3 separate regions of the Homo sapiens genome follow, and regions 1 and 2 are each linked to region 3. The links are contacts of gene promoters, found by promoter capture Hi-C in human tissues and cell types (Jung and others, 2019). All regions are on one chromosome and are shown on one strand. Each heading gives the region's core, a stretch centred on a gene start or on the middle of the fragment in contact. The rest is flanking DNA. Distances are from core to core; before and after follow the strand shown.

The links. The method cuts DNA at HindIII sites, captures the fragments that hold promoters and counts their contacts. A contact is called where the count stands out against the background at its distance.
Region 1: a fragment that was not itself captured here is called in contact with the fragment with the promoter of SLC44A1 in region 3 in 1 of the 25 tissues and cell types used here (hippocampus).
Region 2: a fragment that was not itself captured here is called in contact with the fragment with the promoter of SLC44A1 in region 3 in 2 of the 25 tissues and cell types used here (hippocampus and pancreas).

The regions. Positions count from the first base shown.
Region 1 is chr9:105,042,705-105,047,420 of GRCh38, reverse strand. No RefSeq gene overlaps it. Among named protein-coding and RNA genes, the nearest start is that of CT70, 53 kb to the right of the region's middle. The HindIII fragment of the contact is 6,129 bases long and covers 1-4,716 here.
Region 2 is chr9:105,493,411-105,498,135 of GRCh38, reverse strand. All of the region lies in intron 7 of FSD1L (fibronectin type III and SPRY domain containing 1 like), which reads right to left. Among named protein-coding and RNA genes, the nearest start is that of FSD1L, 48 kb to the right of the region's middle. The HindIII fragment of the contact is 4,377 bases long and covers 944-4,725 here.
Region 3 is chr9:105,242,441-105,246,969 of GRCh38, reverse strand. SLC44A1 (solute carrier family 44 member 1) reads right to left here and starts at 2,319. Exons shown (of 16, transcript NM_080546.5): 1 at 2,066-2,319. The coding sequence starts at 2,101. LOC112268038 (a long non-coding RNA gene) reads left to right here and starts at 1,377. Exons shown (of 3, transcript XR_002956866.2): 1 at 1,377-1,951. RefSeq lists silencers at 1,377-1,456, 1,797-1,936, 1,947-2,546 and enhancers at 869-1,772, 1,773-2,677. The HindIII fragment of the contact is 14,998 bases long and covers 1-4,529 here.

The DNA.
Region 1 (4,716 bases), core at 878-3,377, 200 kb after region 3:
AGGAATCATACTGGAGTACTAAGGATGGACAAATGCCTTGATTTTTAGGAAATACAATTAATTTTTCCCTCCCTGTTTCACCCACTATGGATTCATGAGCTTGGCACCAGTCCTAGGCAAAATTCCATAAGAGATTATTCTACTAATGGCTTATGAGTGCTTACAAATTAAGCAGCAATCCCTCTAAGCCAGTAGCATTTCAGTAAAACAGGTCATGCTAGAGTAATCTAATTTCCTTTTTTGATTAAGGCCATTAGACTGGTTGAGCAGATATGTGGAGTGAGCACAGAATATCTGGATGACAGCCAGACATGTCTCATGTGACATTATTGAATGCAAAATGTGGAAAGAGAGGCTGGATACAGGTATCATGTGGTGGCTTCATAATTATACCCAGTGGATACCAATTAATGAATGGAAAGTGATATGGAAGCAAGCCCCTTGTGGCTGCTGCAGGGCATTAGTCTTGGGCCTGTGCCTGTCCGTACTTTATTTTTATTAGCATATACCAGGTCAAGCAATGGATGTGCCATATCCTTTGCTCTTTGGGGAGCTCCTTGGTCCACAGACTTTTAGGAAGAGATAGATATAGTTAGCCATAGTTTGTGCCAGGTGACCCAAAATTCCAGGGTACGGCTTATTAGACACATTGCCTCAGGGATATATTTCATGGTATTGAAAGAACTTGTAGATCTGGCCCCTGGCTACCTCTCTAGTCTCATTTTTTTCTGTCCCCTTCCCCATGCTTCTAGCATTTCGTCATACCAACTCACAGTACTGTGCATACACCATGTCGTTTTATGCCCCCTTCATTTTGCCTTTTCTTGTCTCTGACTGGAATGCCTTCCTTTCTCTTCTACCTACTTCTTGATCTGTCTGACAAGCTCCTACTCATCATTCAAGACTCAACAAAAGACTGTGTGTGGTGGCCCACACCTGTAATTCTAGCACTTTGGCAGGACGAGGCAAGAGGATCACTTGAGCCAAGAGTTCAAGATCAGCTTCGGCAACACAATGAGACCTCGTTGCTACAAAAAAATAAAATTAACCAGGCATGGTGGTGCCTACTTGTCTCAGCTACTGGGAGGGCTGAGGTGGGAGGATCGCTTGAGTCCGGGAGGTGGAGGTTGCAGTGAGCCGAGATCATACTGCTGTACCCTAGCCTGGGCCACAGAGTGAAACCCTATCTCAAAAAAAAAAAAAAAAAAAGTCCACAAAAAAAACTAGCCAGGGCATGGTGACATGTACCTGTAGTCCCAGTGACTCAGGAGGCTGAGGTGGGAGGGTTGCTTGAGGCTAGGAGGTTGAGGCTGCAGTAAGCCATAATTGTACCACTGCCCTTTGGCCTGGGCAACAGAACAAGACACTGTATCAAAAAAAAAAAAAGAAAAAAAAAAGGCTCAGCTATAGCTTCATGTCCACTGTCAAGTCTTTCTTCTCCTTCATACTTTTTCCCTACACCATTTCTAATGCATTATTCCCCATCCGAATTTTGATGCTTGTACCTACCACTGTTTTAGTAATTATCACAGTGTATTAATAACCTGTTTACTTGTCTGTCTCTCCTGCATTCTGTTCTCCACCCACACTTCCCTTCCCATATAAACACTTTCAGCTCATTGAGGACAGGGACTGGATCCCACCCAGTGCTTGGCACTTAGCGGAGACATTCAGTTAAAGAATAAATGAATAAAAATGAATGAATGAATACCTTGTATAAAAACCCATTATTCTGGCTCTTTGTTAATGAGTCTCAGCCTGCTGAGAATCACAATTACATTTCCACGTAGCCTAATCCAGCTTCCTAAAGGATTTCTTAAAAAAAAAAAAAAATACTCAACAGGAGTCCTTTTCCCTCTAGTCACCTGCCATCTCAATAAGGGCTTATAAATGCACTGGAACAGCAACAGGACTCTCATACACAAACCTCAGGACCATAACCTTGCAGAGCCCCCCAGGGATGCCAGTGCCTTGATTCACTGGGAAGTACCCAGCAAAAATCCAATTTTTCAAGGCTACCCTTCTGTAGCCTCCAAGAAGGCACATCCAAGCTTACTAGATAGCAAGAAGCATTTTTAGATCTCTTGTCTGCACTGTTGTTTTTTTGTTTGTTTGTTTGTTTTTTTGAGATAGACTCTCGCTCTGTCACCCAGGCTGGAGTGCAGTGGCATGATCTCGGCTCACTGCAACCTCCGCCTTCCGGGTTCAAGCAATTCTCCTGCCTCAGTCTCCTGAGTAGCTGGGATTACAGGCTTGCACAACCATGCTTGGCTAATTTTTGTATTCTTGGGAGAGACGGGTTTTCACCATGTTGGCCAGGCTGGTCACGAACTCCTGACCTCAAGTGATCTGCCCACCTCAGCCTCCCAAAGTGCTGGGATTATAGGCATGAGCCACCGCACCCGCCATTGTCTGCACTTTTTGAAAAGGGAATTGAGCCTCACTCATCTTATCCCTTTTCTTCTAATTGTTTCAGAAAGTACCTACCAACTTGTTTAAATGCAGCCAGATCAGGGAGACAGAAAGAATAATTCAGCCTTCCTGTTGCTGTAGGAAGAGTCTAATTATCCTGGGAGGATCTGGACCTTTAAAAAGGATGCTCTGTGGCTTAATGAAAGAATTCAAATTCAAATGGGAGCACCAAATGCAAGTCAGCAGGCATCTATGTCTGTGCCAATTATTCAGTTCTAAATAGCTAGACCAGGCAGTGTTTGTTGCAGGTTGGCCGAGATGCCTGAGTGGAAGACTGGCAGTCTGGCTTGATACCAATGCTCCTGAGCTCATTTTGGTCCCCATGTAATGGGAGTTGGCATTCAGCACACTCCAGAACGCAGGGGATGATGCCCCACTGGTGACCCTTCACACTCAAGGCTAGGACTGGCCTCCCATGGAGATTCCTGCCAAACTAGAGAGATAAAAGCCTGGAGCTCTGGAGCAGACAGACCAGTGTGTAGATCTTCAGTGTGATCATAGAGTCTGAAGGAGACTCAGACCTAATTAATCACCTTTAAAGGGGCATCCAAATTTATTAATAATGTATACATGAAGAGTTTTCTGTTTTGATCAAGGCAAGTATGAAATACTTAGAAGCTTATAATCCTTATTATATGACACTCTGGTCTGTTTGTGAAACTTTCATCTGAAGCTCTCAAAATACTTAATGGCTGATGCTTATTAATCATAATGTCATATGCTTGGGCAGAAATTTTCCTTGCGGGCTCCATGTCCTCACAATGCCCTGGCTAGAAAGCTCTAGAACTCTTGGATCCTGCCTTGTAGTCGAGAAACAAGGGTTAGAGGGCTTACTAGAGTGTGAAGATAAGTAGAAATTTCACACTTTTCTGGCTATCTCTTCAGGGTGTCTAAGGGGACGCTGCCATGAGCAAAAATCCCCCCACAGATCAAGATGGGGCATGCCTTTTGTCTGCTATGGGTCAAGCTCCCAAATTTTGGAGACAAATAGACTAGATCACACCCATTATTTTCGTCTATTTGTCATTTGAGGTTTGAAAAGGCATCTGTAGGATCTAGAGAATGGAAGGCCAAACTAAGAGAAGAGAAGGAAGTTTGTTGAATACCTTTTTTAGCCCCTACAGTCTAACAGAAGAGAATATGAGGGAATCAGGGCTTTGTGGGACCTCTTATCAGAAAGAGAATAGGGAAAAGATAAAGTTAGATCCCTGACTCACTCTGTGATGGCAATTTTGTGTGTCAACTTGGCTAGGCCACTATATCTAGCTCTTTGGTCAAATACCAGTCAAGAGATCTCTGTGAAGATATTTCTAAGATGAAATTAACATTTATATCAGTAGACTTCGAGTAAAGCAGATTACCCTCCATAAACTGGGTGGGCCTTGTCCAATCAGTTGAAGGCGTTAAGATTATGAAAAATTGAGGTCTCCTGAGAAAAAGAGAATACTGCCTCTGAACTTCCTCCTCCTCCTCCTCCCCCTCCTTCTCCCCCTCCCCCTCCTCCTCCTCCTCCTCCTTTTTTCTTCCTCTTCTTTTTTTTTTTTTTTTTTTGAGACAGGGTGTCTGTTGCCCAGGCTGGAGTGCAGTGGCACAGTCCCATGGCAACTTTTGCCACCTGGGCTCAAGTCATCCTCTGGCCTCAGCCTCTCGAGTAGCTGGGTCTATAGGCACACCACCACCATGCCTGGCTAATTTTTGTATTTTTTGTAGAGACTGGGCTTCACCATGTTCCCCAGGCTGGTCCTAAACTCCTGGACTCAAATGATCTGCCTGCCTCAGCCTCCCAAAGTGCTGGGATTACAGGCATGAGCCGTTCACCCCAGACTCCTTCTGACCCAAGCTACAACATTGATTCTTCCCTGGGTCTCCAGCCTGCCACCTGCTCTGCAGACTTTGAATTTGCCAGTCACACAACTGGCTCAATTCCTAAAATCTCTCTCTCCCTCTCTCCTCTCTCTCTCTCTCCGTATACATATCTTATTGGTTCTGTTTTTCTGGAGATCACTAACATGCAACATCATATATCAGAATAAATTGAAATGGATTAAGGAATTAAATATAAACAAATAAAAAGATAAAAGTACTAGAAGGAAATACTAACAAATATCTTGATAGGGAGTGAAGAGGGAGTGAAGGTCTTTTTAGAAAATGTCACCATAGACAGAAACCAGAAAGAGGAACACAAACAGATTTACCATGAAAATTCTATTTCTTCTAAATATCCAAAAGTACCATAAGCATATA
Region 2 (4,725 bases), core at 1,883-4,382, 250 kb before region 3:
GTGGTAGTCACACCTGTAGTCCCAGTGCTTTAGAAGGCTGAGGTGGGAAGATCACTTGAGGCCAGGGGTTTGAGACCAGTCTAGGCAACACAGTAAGACCCCATCTCTACAAAAAAAGATTTAAATTAGCTGGGCATGGTAGCACATGCCTGTAGTCCTAACTACTGAGAAGGCTGTGGCAGGAAGATCCCTTGAGCCCAGGAGTTCAAGGCTGCAGTGAGCTATGATTATATAACTACATTCCAGACTGGGCAACTGAGCAAGACTCTATCTCTAAAAACAAACAAACAAAAAACAAGAACAGAAATCAATGAAACTGAAAAGAGGGAAATCAATGGAAAAAAATCCTGAAAGCAAAACCTGGTTCTTTGACAGATCAATGGAATCAATAAATAACTAGTATCAAATAACTAGTATCAAAAATGAAAGAGGGGGCATCAACAAAGATCCCATGGACATTAAAAAGCTAATCAAGGAATTCTGTGAATAACTCTATGTCCACAAATTTGATAACCCAAAAGGACCAATTCTATGACAGACACAATCTGCCAAAACCCACAAGGAAAACAGACAATCTGAATAGGCCTCTATCTATTTTAAAAATTGAATCGATACTAATAACTTTCCAAAACAGAAAGCACCAGGCACAAAAGTGTTCACTGGTGAATTCTACCATACTTTTCAGGACAAAAGTACACTAACTCTCTACAATCTCTTGCAGAAGAGAAAAATAGAGAGAATACTTCCTAACTCTTTCTATGAGGCCAGCATTACCCTAATACCAAAACTGACAAAGATATTACTCCAAAAGAAAACTACAAACCAGTATGTCTCATAAATTAGATGTGAAAAATCCTCAACAAAATATAGCAAATCAAATCCAACAATTAACAAAAAGAATTATACCCTTGACCAACTGGTATTTATTCCAAGTATGCAGGCTGGTTCGACATTTGAAAAATCAATGTAACCCATCACATCAACAGGCTTAAAAAGAAAAATCTCACAATCATAAAAATAGATGCCAAAAAATGCATTTCACAAATTCCAACACTCATTCAAAATAAAAACTCTCAGTGAAATAGGAACAGAAAGGAACTTCCTCAACTCAACTTGTTAAGAAATAGCTACAAAAAAAATTACAGCTAACACCATACTTAATGGAGAGAAACTCAAAATGTTTCCACTAAGTTCAGGAACAAGGCAAGGATCCCCCTCTTTCTACTGCTTCCAACATAGTACTGGAAGTCCTAGGTAATGCAGTACGACAATACAAGGTATTCAGGTTGGGAAGAAAGAAATAAAACTGTCTTTGTTAACAAACAACATGATCATCTAGGTAGAAAATCCAAAAGAATCAACAAAAAACTCCTGAAACTAGTAAGTGATTGCAGCAAGGCTGCAGGATACAAGGCCTACCACTTTCCTGTATACCAGAAATGAACAAGTGAAATTTGAAATTAAAACACAATACCATTTACATCAGCACCCCCAAAATGAAATCTTTTGATACAAATCTAACAAAATATGTTCCATGTTTATATGAGGAAAACTACAAAACTCTAATGAAAGAAATCAAAGAACTAAATCAATGTAGAGACATTCCAATGTTTATGGATAGAAATACTCAATGTTCTTAAGATGTCAGTTCTTCCCAATTTGACCTACAGATTGATTGCAATCCCAATCATAATCCCAGTAAGCTATTTTGTGGATATCAATAAGATGACTCTAAAGTTTATATGGAAAGGCAAAGGATCCAGATAAAGGCAACACAGTATTGAAAAAGAAGATCAAAGTTGGAAGACTGAAACTAGTCAACTCTCAGACATAGTACGGGAGGCGGAGCTTGCAGTGAGCAGAGAGATTGTGCCACTGCACTCCAGCCTGGGCGACACAGCGAGATTCCGACACAAAAAAAAAAAAAAAAAAAGCTACAGTCATCAAGACCTGGTACTGGTGAAAGAAGAGACAAATAGATCAAAGGAACCAAAGGCAAGCTTCATGAAAGAAACAGTAAGATAGGCTAAACATTATTAGAATTAAAAATCTTGCTCTGTAAAAGACATCGTCAAGGGGAAAAAAAGCCAGACAGGGAGACAATATTTGCAAAAGAAACATCTGATAAGGACTACACAGAATTCCTTTTCTTTTTTTTTTTTTTTTAGATGGAGTCTCACTCTGCTGCCAGGCTGCAGTGCAGTGGTGCAATCTCGGCTCACTGCAAGCTCCGCCTCCCGGGTTCATGCCATTCTGCCTCAGCCTCCCGAGGAGCTGGGACTACATGCGCCCATCACTACGCCCAGCTAATTTTTGTATTTTTAGTACAGAGGAGGTTTCACCATGTTAGCCAGGATGGTCTCGATCTCCTGACCTTGTGATCTGCCCGCCTCGGGCTCCCAAAATGCTGGGGTTACAGGCGTGAGCCACCGCGCCCGGCCCAAAGAACTCTTAATATTCAACAATAAGAAAAGAAACAACCCGAGCTGGAGCCAAGATGGCCGAATAGGAACAGCTCCGGTCTACAGCTCCCAGCGTGAGCTACGCAGAAGACAGGTGATTTCTGCATTTCCATCTGAGGTACCGGGTTCATCTCACTAGGGAGTGCCAGACAGTGGGCGCAGGACAGTGGGTGCAGCGCACCCTGCACGAGCCGAAGCAGGGCGAGGCATTGCCTCACTCGGGAAGAGCAAGGGGTCAGGGAGTTCCCTATCCTAGTCAAAGAAAGGGGTGACAGACGGCACCTGGAAAATCAGGTCATTCCCACCCCAATACTGCACTTTTCCGACGGGCTTTAAAAACAGCGCACCAGGAGATTATATCCCGCACCTGGCTCCGAGGGTCCTACACCCACGGAGTCTCGCTGATTGCTAGCACAGCAGTCTGAGATCAAACTGCAAGGTGGCAGCGAGGCTAGGGGAGGGGCACCCGCCATTGCCCAGGCTTGCTTAGGTCAACAAAGCAGCCGGGAAGCTCAAACTGGGTGGAGCCCACCACAGCTCAAGGAGGCCTGCCTGCCTCTGTAGGCTCCACCTCTGGGGGCAGGGCACAGACGAACAAAAAGACAGCAGTAACCTCTGCAGACTTCAATGTCCCTGACAGCTTTGAAGAGAGCAGTGGCTCTCCCAGCATGCAGCTGGAGATCTGAGAACAGGCAGACAGCCTCCTCAAGTGGGTCCGTGACCCCTGACCCCCGAGCAGCCTAACTGGGAGGCACCCCCTCCATAGGGGCAGACTGACACCTCACACGGCCGGGTACTCCTCTGAGACAAAACTTCCAGGGGAACGATAAGACAGCAGCATTTGCGGTTCACGAAAATCCACTGTTCTGCAGCCACCGCTGCTGGTACCCAGGCAAACAGGGTCTGGAGTGCACCTCTAGCAAACTTCAAAAGACCTGCAGCTGAGGTCCTGTCTGTTAGAAGGAAAACTAACAAGCAGAAAGGACATCCACGCCAAAAACCCATCTGTACATCACCATCATCAAAGACCAAAAGTAGATAAAACCACAAAGATGGGGAAAAAACAGAACAGAAAAACTGGAAACTCTAAAAACCAGAGCGCCTCTCCTCCTCCAAAGGAACGCAGCTCCTCACCAGAAATGGAGCAAAGCTGAATGGAGAATGACTTTGACGAGTTGAGAGAAGAAGGCCTCAGACGATCAAACTACTCCAAGCTACAGGAGGAAATTCAAACCAAAGGCAAAGAAGTTGAAAACTTTGAAAAAAATTTAGACGAATGTATAACTAGAATAACCAATACAGAGAAGTGCTTAAAGGAGCTGATGGAGCTGAAAGCCAAGGCTCGAGAACTACGTGAAGAATGCAGAAGCCTCAGGAGCCGATGCAATCAACTGGAAGAAAGGGTATCAGCAATGGAAGATGAAATGAATGAAATGAAGCGAGAAGGGAAGTTTAGAGAAAAAAGAATAAAAAGAAATGAACAAAGCCTCCAAGAAATATGGGACTATGTGAAAAGACCAAATCTATGTCTGATTGGTGTACCTGAAAGTGACGGGGAGAATGGAACCAAGTTGGAAAACACTCTGCAGGATATTATCCAGGAGAACTTCCTCAATCTAGCAAGGCAGGCCAACATTCAGATTAAGGAAATACAGAGAATGACACAAAGATACTCCTCAAGAAGAGCAACTCCAAGACACATAATTGTCAGATTCACCAAGGTTGAAATGAAGGAAAAAATGTTAAGGGCAGCCAGAGAGAAAGGTCGGGTTATCCACAAAGGGAAGCCCATCAGACTAACAGCGGATCTCTCGGCAGAAACTCTACAAACCAGAAGAGAGTGGGGGCCAATATTCAACATTCTTAAAGAAAAGAATTTTCAACCCAGAATTTCATATCCAGCCAAACTAAGCTTCATAAGTGAAGGAGAAATAAAATACTTTACAGACAAGCAAATGCTGAGAGATTTTGTCACCACCAGGCCTGCCCTAAAAGAGCTCCTGAAGGAAGCAGTAAACATGGAAAGGAAAAACCAGTACCAGCCACTGCAAAATCAGGCCAAATTGTAAAGACCATCGAGGCTAGGAAGAAACTGCATCAACTAACGAGCAAAATCACCAGCTAACATCATAATGACAGGATCAAATTCACACATAACAATATTAACCTTAAATGTAAATGGACTAAATGCTCCAATTAAAAGACACAGACTGGCAAATTGGATAAAGAGTCAAGACCCATCAGTGTGCTGTATTCAGGAAAC
Region 3 (4,529 bases), core at 1,070-3,569:
ATGCACCCCTTGGGTGCATGACATGCATCTTATCTGTGGAACAAGGCATGTTCTACAGTGAGAGGAGGTAAAAGAAAAGAAAACGTATACGATAGCATTCTGAAAAGTATGACGTGGAGCTAGACAAATGCAAGACCCACTATCGGTTTTAAAGCAGAGTTCTGATGCAGCACCCATCCCTCCCAAATTTAACTGTTCATGCACTGAACAAGCTATCCATAAACTATCAATACTTTTCTGTCTTAAAGGCATTTCACCACCAAAAGGGAATGTAAATTAACTCAATTCTGAAAAGAAAGGCAATCTGAAAAACACCTTTTTGGTGAAAATTATACTTAAGTAAATATTAAAGAGCACCCAACTAGACCCCCACAAATTCCTAACCAGTTGAAAGTTATGTGCAATTCTACACCTTTATATGTTAATATGAAAACTCTGATATACCAAGCCTCTCCTTCCTAACACCTCTACGTATAGTTTTACTTTGCTATTATAACTGAATAGGAATCTTTAACTACACCAAAAAGCCTGACTATAATGCTAGCAGGAAAAAAAAAAGCTAACGGGTAAGCAAACACTCAAAAAAAAAAAAAAAAGACTGGAGGAATAGGATGATAGGATGGATACCTAATAAAACACAAATGTCCCCCATTCATCTGCAATTCTAGTCATTTTCTCTCTAACAGATCTCAGATTTTCAGAACAAGTATGCAGGTTATTTAAAACTGAGTTATATATAGTCATTTAGCAGCAGCAAAAACACTTCTGGCATTATCACAGATGCTAGCTTTCTGGAGGAATTTTTTCCCCCCAAACTAGCGTTTTTCTTCACCAAGAACCAACCATCCTTTATTTCTAAAAACAAGAGCCCTTTTCTGCCCCCTAAAACAAACAAATCACAGACCACAGTTAATGAAACTACGCTAATGAAACTGTGAGATTACATCCCAGGCGTTGTCAGAGCCTATTTTTCATACACCACCACAAGACAGTTTGATGCAGTATTCCTGATTGCTTTTTATAGTATTTGTAAATACACTCGCTAATCCACTAAATTAGGTAATTTACAAACAGGTCCTCTCAGTTATTAGTGGCCAGTAGTCGAGTTCTATTACATTTGATCCTCGTACAGTTGTCTAAACATTTCCACCCAGGTTAAGGGCTCGGATCCGAGAGAAGGAGGTTGGCGAAATTTGGATGGGGGCAGGGTAGAAGCTGAGAGAAATCTCTGCATCTCAGCCCTCAGCGACAACATTCAGCCAGTGCCCACAGAAAAACTAAATTCGGAACCTCTTCCTCCTGTTACACTGGCAACAAAGAGGGAGTTTCCGTAGCGCTCCCGTCACCCACCAGGTGCCCAATCTCCTTCCCAGCCCAGAGTCGGCGCTCCCGCAGGGGCCTCCGAGTGCGGGGAGGCCGCGGGGCCCGGGTCACGGCACTAAGGGGGGATGGGGTGCAAGCGAGCAAGCGAGGTCTGCGGAGCGGGCCGTGGAAGGGCTCCGGGACCCGCTGAAACCATCTGAACCCAGCCAGGGGGCAGCGGGCAAGAGAAAAGGGACAGAATATCTAATGAAGCAGAAACTGGAATTCGGTGGGAGAGGTGAAGAGCTCTTGCTGGGGGTACACCTGCGAGGAGCACAGAAAACGGGCGGCGGATGGCGGGGAGACTCCACGGAGGTGGAAGAGAGGAGCCAGGCCCGGAAGAACAGGGAAGGGGATGCCACCTGGGGCAGAGGAGGCGCCAGTGCAGCCTCTACCTGCAGGCGGGCGGGACGGGCAGCTCAGGTGTGACTGGGAGGAGGGGGCCGACTGGGGAAGGGGCCGGGAAGAGCTGAGGGCGCACTAGGCGCCGCGCAGAGGCGCCTTTGAGTCGGCAGCCGCGGAGCCAGCGCACGGGCATCGGCGGGACCCGGCGGACGGAAAGGCGGAGTGGGGGTCTTTGGACTGCACGGTGCGCTCAGGGGAGGCTGGGGACAGCGAGAGGTATCGGGCGGCGGGCGCCCGCCGCGCGACGCGGCGCACGGGAGGCATCCGGGCGGGCGGCCGGGAGGCGGGAGCCCCTCACCTGCGCGGCGGAGGAGGCGGAGCTGCAGCAGCCCATGGCGGGGCCGAAGGAGCCCGGAGGCGGCGCCGGGCGCGCAGCTACGCCCCGGAGCCCCTCGGCATGCGAGCCGGCGGGCGCCCGGGGAGGGCGCGGCCTGGCACCGCACGGCTAGGCGGCGGCGGCGGCTGCAGCGGCGGCTGGTACTCAAGAGGCGGCGCGGCTAGAGGCAGGCGCCGGCCACATCCCCCGGCGGCGGCGACGGCGGCTACGCGTCTCCTGCTCTGCTCCTGCTGCAGCAGCTGCTCCCCAGCGGAAAGGGGCGGGCGGCGGCGGCGGCGGCGCCTCCCTCTGTCCCCCCGCCTCCCGCCTCCCGCGCCCAGTCCCTCTCCCGCTCCCTCTCCCGGGCCGCCGCCTCCTCAGCGCCGCGCGCGTCTCCCATCAGACTCCCCGCCCCCAGTGCAGCGCCGTGCTGGTGGCAGGGCGGCGGCAGCCAGAACAAGGCCGGGCCCTTCCGCGCGTGTCAGAGGCTGCGCGGCGCCGGGCTTATTTAGCTGTGGCACCGAGGCAGCTCTCTGCCTCGAGGCTGGAGGGCAACGCGGTCTGAGGCAGCCAAAGACCGGGCCAACTCGCTGCCAAAAAGGGGCCGGATTGCTTCCGGATCTAGGAGGCAAGCGGGACTTCTCCCTCTCCCTACTGGACGCACAACTCAGGATCCTGATGGCTTCTTACCGCCCCGTCGGCTGTTTTTTTTCTCCAGAGGAAAGCGTACACAAGAAACCTTTCCTGGAGAAGGAATAGGTGATAAGAAGACGGGAAGAAACAAGCATCTGTTGCTACTGTCCCCATTTTGCTGATGTGGAAACTGAGGCTTGAAAGGGACCAAGAACCTAATGAAATGTTCCCAAGGTTGAAATGGTAATAAATAGCCAGAAATGAGGAAAAGGCAAAAAGTTATCCAGGCTCGCAAGTCAAAGCCATACTGGATCTAAGCTAAACTTTCTTATACAGGATAGTCTACAAAAAACAATAAGGGGACATTAATTTATTCATATTAAAAATACTTACTGAAGACACACTACGTTCCAGTGACTAGTACTGGGAATAAAGAGGCGAGCAAAAGAGACTTACCAAGTTCCTGTTGCTAAATCAGTAAGACTCAAGGAAGTAGCAACAAGTTAGAGTAGACGTGGTAACTACCTTCAAGAAATTTACAATTCCAAACGAGTCGTTAGGAAATACAGTATGAGGTGAAAACAGTTAAAAAGTGAAAGAAATAAAACTAAAGATAATGATGTTAAAAAAAACCCCACATTATCAGGCACTGTTATAGCCTTCATATGTCATTTCATCTTGTCAAAGAATGTCTCAAAAGACAGCCACAGGAAAGAAAAGAAAAACTTTATTTGCAAAGCTGCAAGGGAGTGAGACTTCCAAAAGGACTGATTCACCAAATATGAGACATCAAGTTTTAAAGATTAGTTAAAGTATAGAGGGAAGAAAAGAACACAGAATTAAATTGACTTTACATGCACTGAAAGGGAATCTAAGCCAAGGAAAGTTGGAATGGTAGCCTGTAAGGGGACAGCTACAGAAAGGGCCAGGGAAGAAGAATTCCTAATTGATGTTTTCCTATGCCATTTCCTGAGTTCGTGACTGTGGACGAGTTATCTCTCCAAATCTCATTGTCCGCTTCTGTGAAATGCTGGTAGCAGGGATGACTGCAAAGGCTTGTGGTCAAGATTAAATAACATAAGAAAGTGCTGCTAGGTCAGCAAGTACTCAACTGATTGAGATCTTGAATTCTTCTGCATTCTTTCTAGTTTCCTTTCAGGTTAATCAGAGGGTCCACCATACCACGGAGCTGGCGAATCCTACATGTGTTTCCCATAACCATTAAACCAATAAATACAAGTGAAGACATAAAACTAATGGTTCTAGTCCCAATTCTGGTTGTAAACTCCAGAATTAGATTGTAAACTCCCTGAGAACAAGGAAAAGTATTTTCTCCTTTGTATCTCCCTCAGCTCTCTCAAATGTTTGTTGAATTATTCAGTGCAGCCAAGAATAAAAAACATTCCCTTGAGATTTTCCCTCAAAGCCAGAAAAGTACATCTTGTTTTTAACTCGGGGAGGAGGCTGAAAGTAAAACTACAGTCCTAAACAAGAAGCCATCTGTCTTCCTTCTTTATAGTCAAGGAAAGGGGAGTTGTTTCTCTTTGCAGAGTCAATATGGGAGCATTTCTCTCAGATTAGAAAAATCTTTTTGGCTAGTGCTGCCGTTCCGTGTAGTAGCTAGTGCTTATTCTGTAATTGGAACTGTAGAAGGAGATAAATGCGTAACAGACTGTGGCAGTGCTTCATAAAATGTATTTTGCTTTTTTAGAGATCTCTTTCCTAGACATAGATAATGGGTGAATATAATTGAAAGCAACTACAGTCCGTTGTGCTTGACTGATCTGCACTCTGGTTTTCCCTTTAAGTGTTA